3 separate regions of the Homo sapiens genome follow, and regions 2 and 3 are each linked to region 1. Evidence: promoter capture Hi-C in 16 types of primary human blood cells and fetal thymus (Javierre and others, 2016). All regions are on one chromosome and are shown on one strand. The core of a region is centred on a gene start or on the middle of the fragment in contact, and the rest is flanking DNA. Distances in the headings are between cores, read along the strand shown. Region 1 holds the start of CEACAM18 (CEA cell adhesion molecule 18). Region 2 overlaps ZNF175 (zinc finger protein 175). Region 3 has its middle 10 kb from the start of ZNF175.

What was found. Contacts are between HindIII fragments. The CHiCAGO score rates a contact against its expected background, and 5 or more counts as called.
Region 2: a fragment that was not itself captured here is called in contact with the fragment with the promoter of CEACAM18 in region 1 in 7 of 17 cell types (megakaryocytes, M2 macrophages, erythroblasts and 4 more); the score reaches 11.1 in megakaryocytes.
Region 3: a contact is called between a fragment that was not itself captured here and the fragment with the promoter of CEACAM18 in region 1, in 3 of 17 cell types (megakaryocytes, erythroblasts and monocytes). The highest score is 6.7, in megakaryocytes.

Annotation. Positions count from the first base shown.
Region 1 is chr19:51,477,289-51,481,825 of GRCh38, forward strand. It overlaps CEACAM18 (CEA cell adhesion molecule 18), which reads left to right and starts at 1,251. Exons shown (of 6, transcript NM_001405061.1): 1 at 1,251-1,406; 2 at 3,045-3,392; 3 at 4,105-4,377. The coding sequence starts at 1,355. The HindIII fragment of the contact is 9,749 bases long and covers 1-4,537 here.
Region 2 is chr19:51,582,943-51,587,479 of GRCh38, forward strand. ZNF175 (zinc finger protein 175) reads left to right here. Exons shown (of 5, transcript NM_007147.4): 5 at 3,685-4,537. Among named protein-coding and RNA genes, the nearest start is that of LINC01530, 9.2 kb to the right of the region's middle. The HindIII fragment of the contact is 1,592 bases long and covers 1,495-3,086 here.
Region 3 is chr19:51,558,617-51,563,153 of GRCh38, forward strand. No RefSeq gene overlaps it. Among named protein-coding and RNA genes, the nearest start is that of ZNF175, 10 kb to the right of the region's middle. The HindIII fragment of the contact is 4,287 bases long and covers 190-4,476 here.

The DNA.
Region 1 (4,537 bases), core at 1-2,500:
ATCCCTGTTTTTAGAAACAGCCTGACCCTCCAACAACAAAGTGTCAACCTAAATAACAAACAGAGAGAAGCTCTCTAAAAGAAAATGATATGTATTCAGGAATGGGGCATTGCAATGGGAATCTGGGTGCTATAGTAAACTACGTGCATATTCAGGGAGGTAAAAGAACACAAAGGGTTTTCAATGGAAAAATGAGGAGGACCCCATAAATGGTTTGAGATAATTACCCTAGGCTACAAGGATCCCTAATGAGGGTGACGTCAGTCCAAGTTTGGACCGGAGGTTGCTGTCCAAATACTTGTCACAGAAGTATTTTTTTGGTGGAAGGAAGCAATGGCTTTTGTGCAAGACTATGGTTTCTGCAGCGTCTTCTGTGAAAATTTTTGTTGTCAGAGAGCCCTCGCTTCACAGCCTTCCCCACTGTATTTCTCAGGGATTTTTTTGGCTTGTGAGCACTTTCACAAAGGGATCTGGTTATACACACACTGGTTCAGGTCTAGAAGAGCATTCCCTGCAGCCATTCACAATGGTCATGGGAGGAATATTTAGTGACATAGAGAAATAGTCCACTGTTGAGGAGGAAAGCAGCCAGTTGTAAAACAGCCCCAGGCAGTCTAAAAGTTGGGCCCTACACCGGGCACGGTGGCTCACACCTGTAATCTCAGCACTTTGGGAGGCCGAGGTGGGCGGATAACGAGGTCAAGAGATCAAGACCATCCTGGCCAGCATGATGTAACCCCGTCTCTACTAAAAACACAAAAATTAGCTGGGTGTGGTGGCACGAGCCTGTAGTCCCAGCTACTCGGGAGGCTGAGGCAGGTGAATCACTTGGACCCGGAAGACGAGGTTGCGGTGAGCCAAGATCATGCCATTGCACTCCAGCCTGGTGACAGAGCGAGACTCCGTGAAAAAAAAAAAAAAAAAAAAAAAGCTGGGCCCTGCATAGGAAAACCAAACCAAATGGAAACAGGACATACAGTTGAGGAGTTTGATGTCCTATCTTTGAGGCACTTGGCTGTATTTTCTGGTTTTCTTTGTTTTCCCAACAGTGAGCCTGTGTTTTTCCGTTTTTTCATGACCAGAGAAAAAAATGTAAATTATTATAAAAATAAGTAAATAAATAATGAACTAAAGGCAACATAAAGCCATAAAGATAAGGTTGGGCTCTCAAGAGCCGTCTTCCCCAGGCCCCACCCCTGCTGGTCAGAGTGCACCCTGGGGAGGAAAGGCCGCCCTGAAGGCTGGGAGACGAGACCGGCAGCCTCTGTGCCAGGAGACACAGGTCTTGGAGGGAGCAGAGGAGGTGGCTGTGTCTCTGGAGGGACCCCTCCTCCTGGAGGACCCCAGGCAGCTCATGGACCTTTCCAGACCCAGATGGAGCCTGTGGAGGAGGGTCTTCCTCATGGGTAAGAGATGCTGGATGCTGGATGAGCTTCCCAGGACTGAGGGAAGGGCAGCTAGGAGCAAAGCGGCGGGGAGGGGGCTGGGACCATCCCCATCCACGGGCACATCAAGAAACTCCCAGAGCAGGGGTCGGGGAGAGGAGAAGGGGGAGGACCCTCAGCACAACTTTCATGAGCTCACACACGTGGGCACACTTTGCCCCTAGACACACCCCTGCACAGACCCACACATGTGGTGTTACACACACACGCACACGCACATGCACACACACACACGCGCGCACACACAGAGAGAGAGAGAGAGAAACTGTGTTTCTATCTACGCCCAGGAATCAGGAGCTTGGACCTTCACCCTCACCTCCCTGCACTCACCTCCCACTGGGTGCCCCAATCTGCCCCATCCCCTCCCCCACCTCTCAGGCCAGATTCCTTCCCAGCCCCTCACCTTTGCCCAGGACCTTCTGTGCCCCCTACAAGCACAACTGTCCTGCTTTACCACGTGTACTGTCCTTGAACAGGTCCAGTGTGTCCATACGTGAGGCCTAGAGCCGGGGTCTCAGGCATCTCTGCCTCCTCCACATAGCCCAGGCTTGGGGTTCACAGGGCAGTGGACAACTGCCCATGTCATATGTGGTAACAGGCTGCCGCCTCCATTCACACCCACTCCAGTGAATTTAGATGCAAAATCAAAGACATGTAGAAATTCTCGGGGGAGTATTTCTCACCCAGACAATCATTACTGAACTCCCCCTGTGTCCAGCCTGTGCTCAGGGGCGCTGGGGACTCAGTGGTGACTGAGACAGGGCAGTCCTGCCCTCCTGGAGCCCACAGTCCAGGGCGAGATATAGATATGTGCCCAGACTCTGAGGACCCCCAGAGGTCATGGCTGGGATGGGGGGAGCCCAGGAGGAGCTGGGGGAGCCCAGAGGGGACACCTGACCCAGGCTGGGGTGGAGGAGACATCCAAGCTGAGACCTGAGTGATGAATAGAAGTGAGTCAGCAAGGAGGGTGCAGATGGAGAGGAGGGAGAAGGAGTCCCTGCCGGGAATGGGGAACAGCGTGTGCGAAGCCTGGAGTTAGGAGAAGGTGTGGTGCACCAAGAGAGCTATGTAGAGGCCTGGGGCATACAGCGTGGCAGTCATGTCTTCTGATAAATAACTACAGGAATAAATGAGTAAAAGGTGCATAGTGGGGACAGGATGGGGTAGGTGTGCACCACAAGGAGGCTCGATGAGTCACAAACACCAGCTCTGGCTGAGAGTGTTTCATATACCCACCTAAGAGTTTGGACTGTATCCTAAGAGCACTGGGGAGCCATGGAAGGTGTTTGAGCAGAGGAGAACAGGGTCGCAACTTGGGCTTATTAACATTTACGTAACTGTGATGTGAGGATGGATTGGAGGCTGTGTGGCTAGCGAGGAGGGCCTGGGAGAAGATAAGGGTAAAATGGACCACGGCAGGGGCTGAGGGGAGGCACAGGAGGGGACAAGCTGGGGACTCTACCAGGAGCCAGAAACTCTTGCCTGGTTCACCAGCGTCTCTGGGAATCGTTCCCGGATGGTGTCTTTTTTCCTTGTCTTCTCAGCCAGTCTGAATCTCTTTGTGAATTTCTCTCTGTCTTTTTTCCTTGTCTTCTTCAGCCAGTCTGCTGGCCTGTGGGATCTGCCAGGCCTCTGGCCAAATCTTCATCACCCAAACCCTGGGGATCAAGGGATATCGGACTGTCGTGGCCCTGGATAAGGTCCCTGAGGATGTTCAGGAATACAGCTGGTACTGGGGTGCAAACGACAGCGCAGGAAACATGATTATCAGCCACAAACCGCCCAGTGCCCAGCAGCCTGGGCCCATGTACACTGGCAGGGAGAGAGTGAACAGAGAAGGCAGCCTGTTGATCAGGCCGACTGCATTAAATGACACGGGAAACTACACTGTTCGGGTGGTTGCAGGCAATGAGACCCAAAGAGCAACCGGCTGGCTGGAGGTTCTAGGTGGGTTAGCAGGTGCTGTGTTTCCCAACCCCCAAGGAGAGCTAGATGTGACACATTTGAGAGAAGGACATTATACAGAGCATGACACCGGGAGTGGAAATCACGGAGCCGCCCTGGAATCTTGTGTACCATGGACAGCTCCTGGGGGATCTGAGGGCTAGTGGGAGGAGAGGGCGGAGTTGGAAGACAAGCAGTCCTGTATTTGACAGTGGCTGCAAATACATACTGCAGGACCCTGGCCCATTTGTGTTCCTTCTGTGTTCTTCAGTTTCCTCATCTGTAGAGTGGGGAGGAACCCACCATTGTGGTTTGTCGTAGCGTTGGAGGGAGTATTCGTAAAGTGAATGGGACTCAAATAATGGAGTAGTATTGTGTAGCCAAATGCCACCTCTCACTCAGAACCTCTCGTGTCTCCTGGATGAGGGTCCTGGTTTGGAGGATCAGAAACAATGATTAGGCCACATGTTTATGCCAAGAGCTCACCATTATGGCAGCAGACAGCACGGCAGTGGCTCAGGCAAGGCCCACACCTCAGCAGCCTCATTGCCCTGTGCCTATTCCTCTGCCCTTCTCAGCTCCCTTGCCAGGATGCCAGATCTTATCTTACAGCTCTTGGCTTCTCTCCAACATGCCCAGAAGTCCCCTGGAGAGGAGCAGAGCTTGGGGAAGCAGACCCCACTTGTAATTTTTTTCTCTTTCCTGCTTCACCCAGAGTTGGGAAGCAATCTGGGCATCTCCGTCAATGCCAGCTCCCTGGTGGAGAACATGGATTCTGTGGCTGCTGACTGCCTCACAAATGTCACCAACATCACGTGGTATGTGAATGATGTGCCTACCTCTAGTAGTGACCGGATGACAATTTCCCCAGACGGCAAGACCCTCGTCATCCTCAGGGTCAGCCGCTATGACAGAACAATTCAGTGCATGATAGAGAGTTTCCCAGAGATCTTTCAGAGAAGTGAACGCATCTCTCTGACTGTGGCCTGTGAGTGGTCTGGGCTCCTGGGACTGAAGCCAGGGCTGGTCTCAGGGCTTTCTAGGGATAGGAATATGTTAGGACAGGCTGAGCTGGAGAGAGGGGGCATCCTGGGCCAGCCTGCAGCCAGCTCACTCTGGATTGGAATCAGCTCAGGCTCTTGAGCCCT
Region 2 (4,537 bases), core at 1,041-3,540, 110 kb after region 1:
CCTCCCAGGTTTGAGTGATTCTCCTGCCTCAGCCTCCCAAGTAGCTGTGATTACAGGCATGCACCACCATGCCCGGCTAATTTTGTATTTCTAGTAGAGACGGGGTTTCTCCTTGTTGGTCAGGCTGGTCTCGAACTCCCGACCTCAGGTGTTCCGCCTGGCTTGGCCTCCCAAAGTGCTGAGATTACAGGCGTGAGCCACCGTGCCCGGCTATGGGCATCTTTTCCCACAGGAATTGACTTAAAGGACCCATCCATTCTGAACTCTTAGTCCTCATATTTTTATTCTAATGATTTATATATCAGTACCTCTAGTCCCTGTGCTTAAACTGTGTTCTGCTACCTTACTTAGCTCCACGGAGGACAGTTCCCATGAGATGACTCACTTCCTTAATTTTGGGAGATCAGAAATTGGAATCATCATCATCCAAATAAGGAATTCTCACCTGATAAATTTTGTGAGATTTTTCTGTTTCTGGGCTCAGAAACACAGTCCTCTAATTTAATTTATTACTTTGGAATTCTTACCAGTTTTTCTTGTTTTAATTAAGAAAAAAGTGACCCTTTTTCTTAATCCCAGTGGTATTACAACAAACTAGATCCCCATTTTCTCATATTTAGACAATTTTGTTCCCAGTGAGATATGTTGATTTCAGGTTTTTGAGTTTAGTCAAGATACTGACAGATTTTATGACCCCAAACATGGCTATTTTGTTTCTTTTTTCCTCAGTAGATATGATAAAAACAGGCAGTTCTATTTCCTACTGTGTAGGATTAACAAATTCTTTTCAGTGATATTGTCCTCATGGCCACATATTTCCAATTTAAAAATATACCTGAATAGTTTTCATCACTCATGCTCTGCTCCATTGTTTTTGTATGTTGTTTAATGTCTACTCCATAGAATGATTCACTTTGCATACACTCTGCTGATTACTTTGTACTTTCTTAATCTTCATTATATCAATGTTTAGCATGAGGAAACCATTGTATTTAAGATATAGGATTAGGATTTTTGTATTTAGGATACAGAAATTACTGATTTTCTGAAAATGGGCAGAAAAGAATATTTCACAGTATTTTAAAAGGATGCTTTAAATATTTGCTGAGATAAATTCAAAAGAACGGAGATTGTATTTGGATGGAGAGGACAATGGCATTAAATGTTAAAAGTATTAGCCTTTGTGCATCAATCATGTCTATTTCATGGAAGGCTACTCAAAAAGTAAGTGTATCAACATGGGAAGCATGGATAGCAAATGCTGGTGAAGTTCAGAAAAATGATGTCAGCCTAGAGGTGGAGTGACATTGGGAATTAATTTTAAGGGCATAGTACCTATAACTGGTTCAAGAAGCCATTTTGAATTGAAACAAAGAAGCAGATGAAGCAAGCTTAATGGGAATAGAGGACATGAGAGTGTGCTTGGATTTGAGAATAAATTGGACTTCTTTTTTGCAATCGACATTGTTAGGCTGTGTTGGAGAGTTGTGGAAAAGCTTTTCAGTACAGTTCTGATAGTTTACATTGAACATTTTGGGCAGTAATTTAAGTGTTACCAGGTTCAGCAAGATTTTTATGACCTGAATAAAGTGAGAAGTTAAAAATGTTTCAGATCGCTGCCTGGGGACACAGTGGAAGATTGCCAGAATAAATGACCACCTGTATATGGGTAAAATTGCTATTTAAGAGTGAAAAATGAAATAGAAAACAACCTATTTTAATAAGTGGGAAAAGGATGTGAATAGACATGTCTTCAAAGATGATATACAAGTGGCCAATAATAGGAAAAAATGCTCAACTTCACTAATTATGTGGGAAATGCAAATCAAAACCACTGGGTGATATCCCTTTACATCCATTAGAATGGCTACAATTAAAAAAACAGAATAACAAGTGTTGGCAAGGATATAGAGAAACTGGAATCCTTGTGTATTACTAGTGGGAATGTAAAATGGTGTAGTCCTATGGAAAACAGGATGATGATTTCTCAAAAATTAAACATAAAATTACCATATGATCCAGCAACTCCACTTCTGGGTAGATACCCACAAGAATTGAAAGCAAGGACCCAAACAGCTGTTTGTACACTCTTGTTCATAGCAGCACTATTCACAATATCCAAAAAGTGGAATTGTCCATTGACCAATGAATTGGTAAACAAAATGTGGTCTATACATACAATGAAATATTATTCAGCCTTAAAAAGGAAGAGGAATTATGAAACATGTTGCAGTGCGGATGAATCTTATCATGATGCTAAGTGAATAAGCCAGACACAAAAAATCCAAATGTATCATTCTACCTGTATGAGGTACTTTAAGTAGTCAATTCATAGAGACAGAATAAGATTGTGGCTGCCAGAGAATGAGGGATGGGGGAAAAGGGAAATTGTTTAATGGATACAGCATTTCAGTTTTGCAAGATGTAAAAGTTTTGGAGATCCATTGCACAACAGGGTGAATACAGGTAGCACTACTGAACTGTACAATACAAAATGGGCAAGATGGTAAATGTAATATTATGCACTTTTGCTACAATAAGAAAAAGTTAACAATAAAGATTAAAAGTGTCCTTTTTTTAAAAAAAGAATGAAAGATGATTGAGTTTTTTTGATAGGACAAGAGTCTGGGATACAGTTTAAGTGACTGAAAGCGAAAAGAAACTACATGTGATGTTCATACTCAGTATTAAAATCTGGTAGAAAAAGTAATAGTAAAATTTAGTAACTATTATTTTTATTGAGAACCTGCTGTGTTTTGTGCAGTATACTAGTAAAGTGCACAGGATGATCAGGGACTCTTATTCTTGGCAAAAAAACAAAACAAAACAAAAAACTAAACTAAAAAAGGCATATTTGATAGCATAAAGCCAAAAGTTCTAACAAAGAACAATTAATTTCAATGGAACAAGGGTGAAACAAATTCTGGGGAACAGCTTGCTTGTCCAGTCTTTTAGAATATATTTCTGGGGATATGGGTATATTCCTAAGTTCAAGAAAAAAAAATTGTAGCTTCATGGAGAGTTGAGGCATAGGAGAGTTGAGGCATAGTCATTCTTTCACTGGTTGGCCATGTCAAGATAGGTGAAGCTTTAATAGTTTTCAGAAGGATATACAGGGCTGATGGACTTGGCATTGTTTCTAACAAGTAAGATAAAGCAGGCAGATTGGTGAGGATTCATCTCTGAAAGTTAATGAAGACCTACACACTGAGCCCCCTCCTTCAAGCCTTGGCTGCCCACACATGTTGCCCTGCAACACTTGTCTGTTTTATCCTACTCATCCTACTAGATCTGGGTGTCTAGACCACTTGCATAAGTGTCCTCAGGTTGTTGAAATCTAATCCCCACAGATTAGCAAAGTGATCTTGGCCAATTACATAACCATTATGTGCTTCCTTTTCTTTGTAAAACAGGAACACCCATCATCGCTACCTCCTGAGGTTATTATGCAGATTAAATGAGTATGTGTGCACCATGTAGGCCACTGCCTGGCACATGCTAAGTGCTATGTAGATAAATGCTCATCATGTAATAAGGGCTCTGTGTTTCTGCTCATTGTCAGCATCATTAGCAGCATTATTACATGACTCAGCAATTTCCTTGTGTTCTGTGTCAATCAGCTTCATGCAGTTTCTCCTCTTTCTTGTTCATTGTGTCTATTTCATCTTCTCTTTCTCCTTTTAGAAAGGGAGTTTGGGCTTGAAATCCCACAAAAGGAGATTTCTAAGAAAGCTTCATTTCAAAAGGATATGGTAGGTGAGTTCACAAGAGATGGTTCATGGTGTTCCATTTTAGAAGAACTGAGGCTGGATGCTGACCGCACAAAGAAAGATGAGCAAAATCAAATTCAACCCATGAGTCACAGTGCTTTCTTCAACAAGAAAACATTGAACACAGAAAGCAATTGTGAATATAAGGACCCTGGGAAAATGATTCGCACGAGGCCCCACCTTGCTTCTTCACAGAAACAACCTCAGAAATGTTGCTTATTTACAGAAAGTTTGAAGCTGAACCTAGAAGTGAACGGTCAGAATGAAAGCAATGACACAGAACAGCTTGATGACGTTGTTGGGTCTGGTCAGCTATTCAGCCATAGCTCTTCTGATGCCTGCAGCAAGAATATTCATACAGGAGAGACATTTTGCAAAGGTAACCAGTGTAGAAAAGTCTGTGGCCATAAACAGTCACTCAAGCAACATCAAATTCATACTCAGAAGAAACCAGATGGATGTTCTGAATGTGGGGGGAGCTTCACCCAGAAGTCACACCTCTTTGCCCAACAGAGAATTCATAGTGTAGGAAACCTCCATGAATGTGGCAAATGTGGAAAAGCCTTCATGCCACAACTAAAACTCAGTGTATATCTGACAGATCATACAGGTGATATACCCTGTATATGCAAGGAATGTGGGAAGGTCTTTATTCAGAGATCAGAATTGCTTACGCACCAGAAAACACACACTAGAAAGAAGCCCTATAAATGCCATGACTGTGGAAAAGCCTTTTTCCAGATGTTATCTCTCTTCAGACATCAGAG
Region 3 (4,537 bases), core at 1,083-3,582, 82 kb after region 1:
ACCCAGCCAGCCTAAAGGGACAGAATTTTCAGGATGAGATTTTTCAGTCATCAAATAGGCAGAAGTATATCTAAGATTGTGGGCAATGGTGGCCATAAAGTAAACAACTGGGCTGGTTATGGGGAAATAGAAAGGTGGGAACACAAAAGTGTGGATCTGAGACGAACTCCTTCTTCATGATAAAATAAAAGCTTTTAATGCTCATAGGAAGTACAAAAGTTAGATTGGAATTGGAAGGAGCAGGAATATCCCACAAAATAACACTGAAATAAGTTTGACCTACAAATTCCTGATTGCACAAGTAAACATGTTTAAGACTAAGAGAGAATGATGATGCTTAGGAAATGGACCAGGAATGAAAAAGTCTGGGGTAAAATCCCAAGGCTGGTAAGAGGGTTACATTCATTGAGTAGAATCCCCACCCACCTATTTATTAACCCATCCATCCATCCATCCATCCATCCATCCATCCATCCATCTGTGTGTCCGTGTTTCCATTTATCCATCCATTCATGTGTCCATATGTATCAGTTAAAGTCCAATTACTAAAAAAGAAATCACATAAATATTTAAAACAGAGGACATTTAATGGCAGAAATTGATTACGCAGTTGATGTTAGGGATGAAAAATTAAACAGAGGACAATCAGGCAACCTAGAAATGAACAACAGCAGGAAACCACCACCACTTCTAGGCTAGAGGACAGAGGGAAAGGGCAGTGCACCAGAGCCCAGTAATCAGGGGCACCCAGAGGCTGAGTGCTGAGCACTCCGAGTCTGAGTGCTGGAGGCTCAGAGAGGGTGCTGCCACTACCAAAGAGATTGCACAATTCAGAGAGAAGGGAAAAAATAAATGCTGCTGCTTCTCCATTTTCTTCCTGTATTTTAATCTCCAGCATTAGCCTCTCATTATCTGAACCTAGTTGGAAGCTGGCTAATAAAGATGCCTGATAAATGTGGTCTGGCAGAGGAAGTATCTGGAGTACATAGCAATGTAGAGGAGGTGCAAGGAAAGGTTCTGAGAGCAGAGCAGTCATGGACGGTCCATCCAACCATCAACTATCCAGCCAGCCACTCATCCATCCATCCAATCATTCATTCATCCATCCATCCATCCATCCATCCATCCATCCATCCATCCATCCATCTCGCCCAGCAGTACAGTTCAGGAGATAGGATATGAAACTGGACAGAGATTATTTCTGGATGAACCAAGTCAGCAAGTGATTCAAGATGCAGAGAGGTGGGCTTTAGTAAGAGATACAGGGGCTCTGTTCCTCTGGACTTCAATGTCCATCTTCTCACCATGTCCAGAGGAGAGAGATCAGTTCAGTCCACTCTCCCAGCCATGCTTCTCTGGGACCCTCTGATCCTGTGAGAAAATGTAAGAGGAGGTTAGCAGTTAGGGCTGCAGAGAGCTCACCCTGAGGAAGACAGACCAGGCCACTTTTCCTTGGAATTTGGGGGCTCAGAGACTGGGTCATCTGAGCAAGGCACTGCTCACCTAGTGCAGCAGATCCAGGTGAATCCACAGATGAATGTGCAGCTGGTCCCCATGAGGATTCCCCTAATCAGTGTGAAACCCAGGGTCTGTAAAACGCCTTCTTCTATAGAGATAACGGAGTCACCTGAAGGGGAGGAGAGGAATAAAGTGTTTCTCCTAGACCTCATCCCACTCACAGTCCCATCCTAGAATCCAGGTGCCCTGTCCATTCTTCCCACCAATGACTCACTCTGCACAGAGAGGCTAATGGAGACATGCTGGGAGCCCAAAGGGTGCTGAGCTTGGCAGACAAATTCCCCTCCATCACAAGACTCCACTGGGGGCAGCTCCAGGACGGCTGATTCTGACGACTGGGAGAGATTCAGGGCTTGGCCTTCCCAGGTCCAGCTCAGCCTGGCAGGTGGGTTGCTGTCAGTCACATAAACAAAACGCAGGGATTGGTTCTTCAGGACTGACAGGGAGGTGGCATTCTCCAAGGCTACAGGTGCTGGGAATAGAGGGGAGAAGAGAAACTCAGCAAGAGAGATACCAAGAGAGGCACATGCAGGCCTTGGGTTCAGATGTACAGAGGGGTCCCCCTTCCCCTTCATGATGCAGTTTGGTCTCTTCCCCTTCTCCGTTATTCTGTTAGTTTAGATGCAGACTCCGTGAGGTACAGGAATAGAGGAAAGGACTTTGTCCTTGATGAGAATCCCAGTCAAGATCTCCTGGCCACCCCCTAGTTCCCACACCCTCTTTCCTGCTATCTTTACCAACATCTCCAGTTACCCTAAAGTCTAATCATTTATTTATTCAATCTGCAGCCCTTTACTGATCCTTGTTTAAATGAGGTACTACTGAGAGGGTATCAGCTCCTGAGGGTGTCACAGTCTAATGGTTATAAGAGGCCCAGGACTAGATCTTCACTCTGCAATATGACAGGTGATGTGATGGAGTGACTCAGGTGAAGGAGGGTGAGCAACACAATAAGACAGAAAGTCAGGGAGGTCTCCCTGGAGGAGGAGGGGCTTAAGAAGAGTGAGATGGACAAGTGGAAACAGACAGTGGACAATATTGGAGCAGAAGACCATGCTGGGAGAAAGGAAGAGCAGTGCAAAGACAACTATGACTAGAAATGGCCTTGGAGTTTCAGGGAATGGAAATTAATCCTGTAAGGGAAGAGGATAGAAATGTGCATAATCATGTGGAGAACAGGGTGAAAAGAGGAACCTTTGGCAAGATTATATATAAATATAAATGTAAATTAAATATAAACATAAATATAAATATGTGTTTGTGTATATATACACATACATTATGTATACTATGTACATTATATATAATCTCAGAGGCGGGAGAGCCAGAATGATAAACAAAGATTTACAAGCAAAGACTTACAAACTCAACTACATAAAACAAAACTTCCATGGCACATCCAAGCTAAATGAAATCAGGAGAGAATGATGAAATTGACAAACTTTTCTGACCAATGACAAAAATACTGGAAAAGACATTTGCAATTATATTATGGATTAGTGGTTGCATTTCCTAATATAAAAATAACATCCAAATCATGAAGAAAATAAGCACAAGCTAATGACAATAGGAAATTGTATGAACAGACAGTTCATAGCATGGCAGAACACAACAGAACGGACAATGTTAATGTCAATTAAACCTCACCTTCATGCCCAGCTAGAGAAATGCAATTAAAGCTATGGTGCGGTACATTTTTTATCAGTAGTCATGGAAAAATCAAAATCATTGCTAACGTATTTGGTTGTTGAGGTTGGAGTGAGGCAAAAACTAACACATTGCATGGGCTGGGGAGGACGTGGGGATTGCAAAATGGTACAACCACGGGAAAAGCCATGTGGCCACACCTCTCAGAATTGGTAATGCATGTGCCCTTTGATCAAATAATTCAAATTTATACAGACATATTAGCTTCCTTGCAAAATATATGTAAGTATTATTTATTGTAGCAGTGTTTATAAGTAGCAAATGACATATATGCAATGGAATATTTTGTAGTTGTGAAAAAGAATGAAGTTCTTTATTTACTGGCATAAAAAGATCTCCAAAAATTATTAAATTTAAAAAAAATAGGCCAGGCACGGTGGCTCATGCCTGTAATCCTAGCACTTTGGGAGGCCGAGTCGGGTGTAACACCTGAGGTCAGGAGTTCAAGACCAGCCTGGCCAATATGATGAAACCCCATCTCTACTAAAAATACAGAAATTATCCAGGTGTAGTTGCGGGTGCCTGTAATCCCAGCTGCTCGGGAGGCTGAGGCAGGAGAATCACTTGAACCCAGGAGGTGGAGGTTGCAGTGAGCTGAGATAGTGCCATTGGACTCCAGCCTGGGTGTCACAGTGAGACTCCATCTCAAAAAAAAAAAAATAGGGTGCAGAACAGTGTATCAAGGATGTTTTGTGTGTAAAAAAGCATGCTCACATGAAATTTTTATATTTACTTGTAGATGAAGATACACATGCATAAGGCATCTCTGGATGAATGTATCCAAAACAGTTTACAATGGAGGCCTCAGAGGAAGCAAACTAGGAATCTGGAGGGCAGAGGTGAGACAGGTGCATTCTATACATGCCCACTTATATCTTTTCTTTATGAGATCATGTGAATAAATCGCCTGGGAAAAAATCTTAAATTAAAATTGTTGAAAAGTAGAGAGGAGAGGCTGAATGAAGAGGCAGGAAGGCAACATGTGATTCTCAGATTTGGTTCTGTTAGTGTTGGGGAAAGAGCTGAGAAGTTCCAGAAAGCTGCCAGGCCAGGCACAGTGACTCACACTTCTAATCCCATCACTTTGGGAGGCTGAGGCCAGCAGATCGCTTTGAGCTCAGGAGTTTGAGACCAGCCTGGGCAACATGGTGATTCCCTGTCTCTACAAAAAAATACAAAAATTAGCCAAGCATTGGTGGCTCGCACCAGTAGTCCCAGCTACTCAGGAGGCTGAGGTAGGAGAATTGCTTAAGCTTGAGAAGCAGAGGCTGCAGTGAGCCGAGATGGTGCCACTGCACTCCAGCCTGGGAGA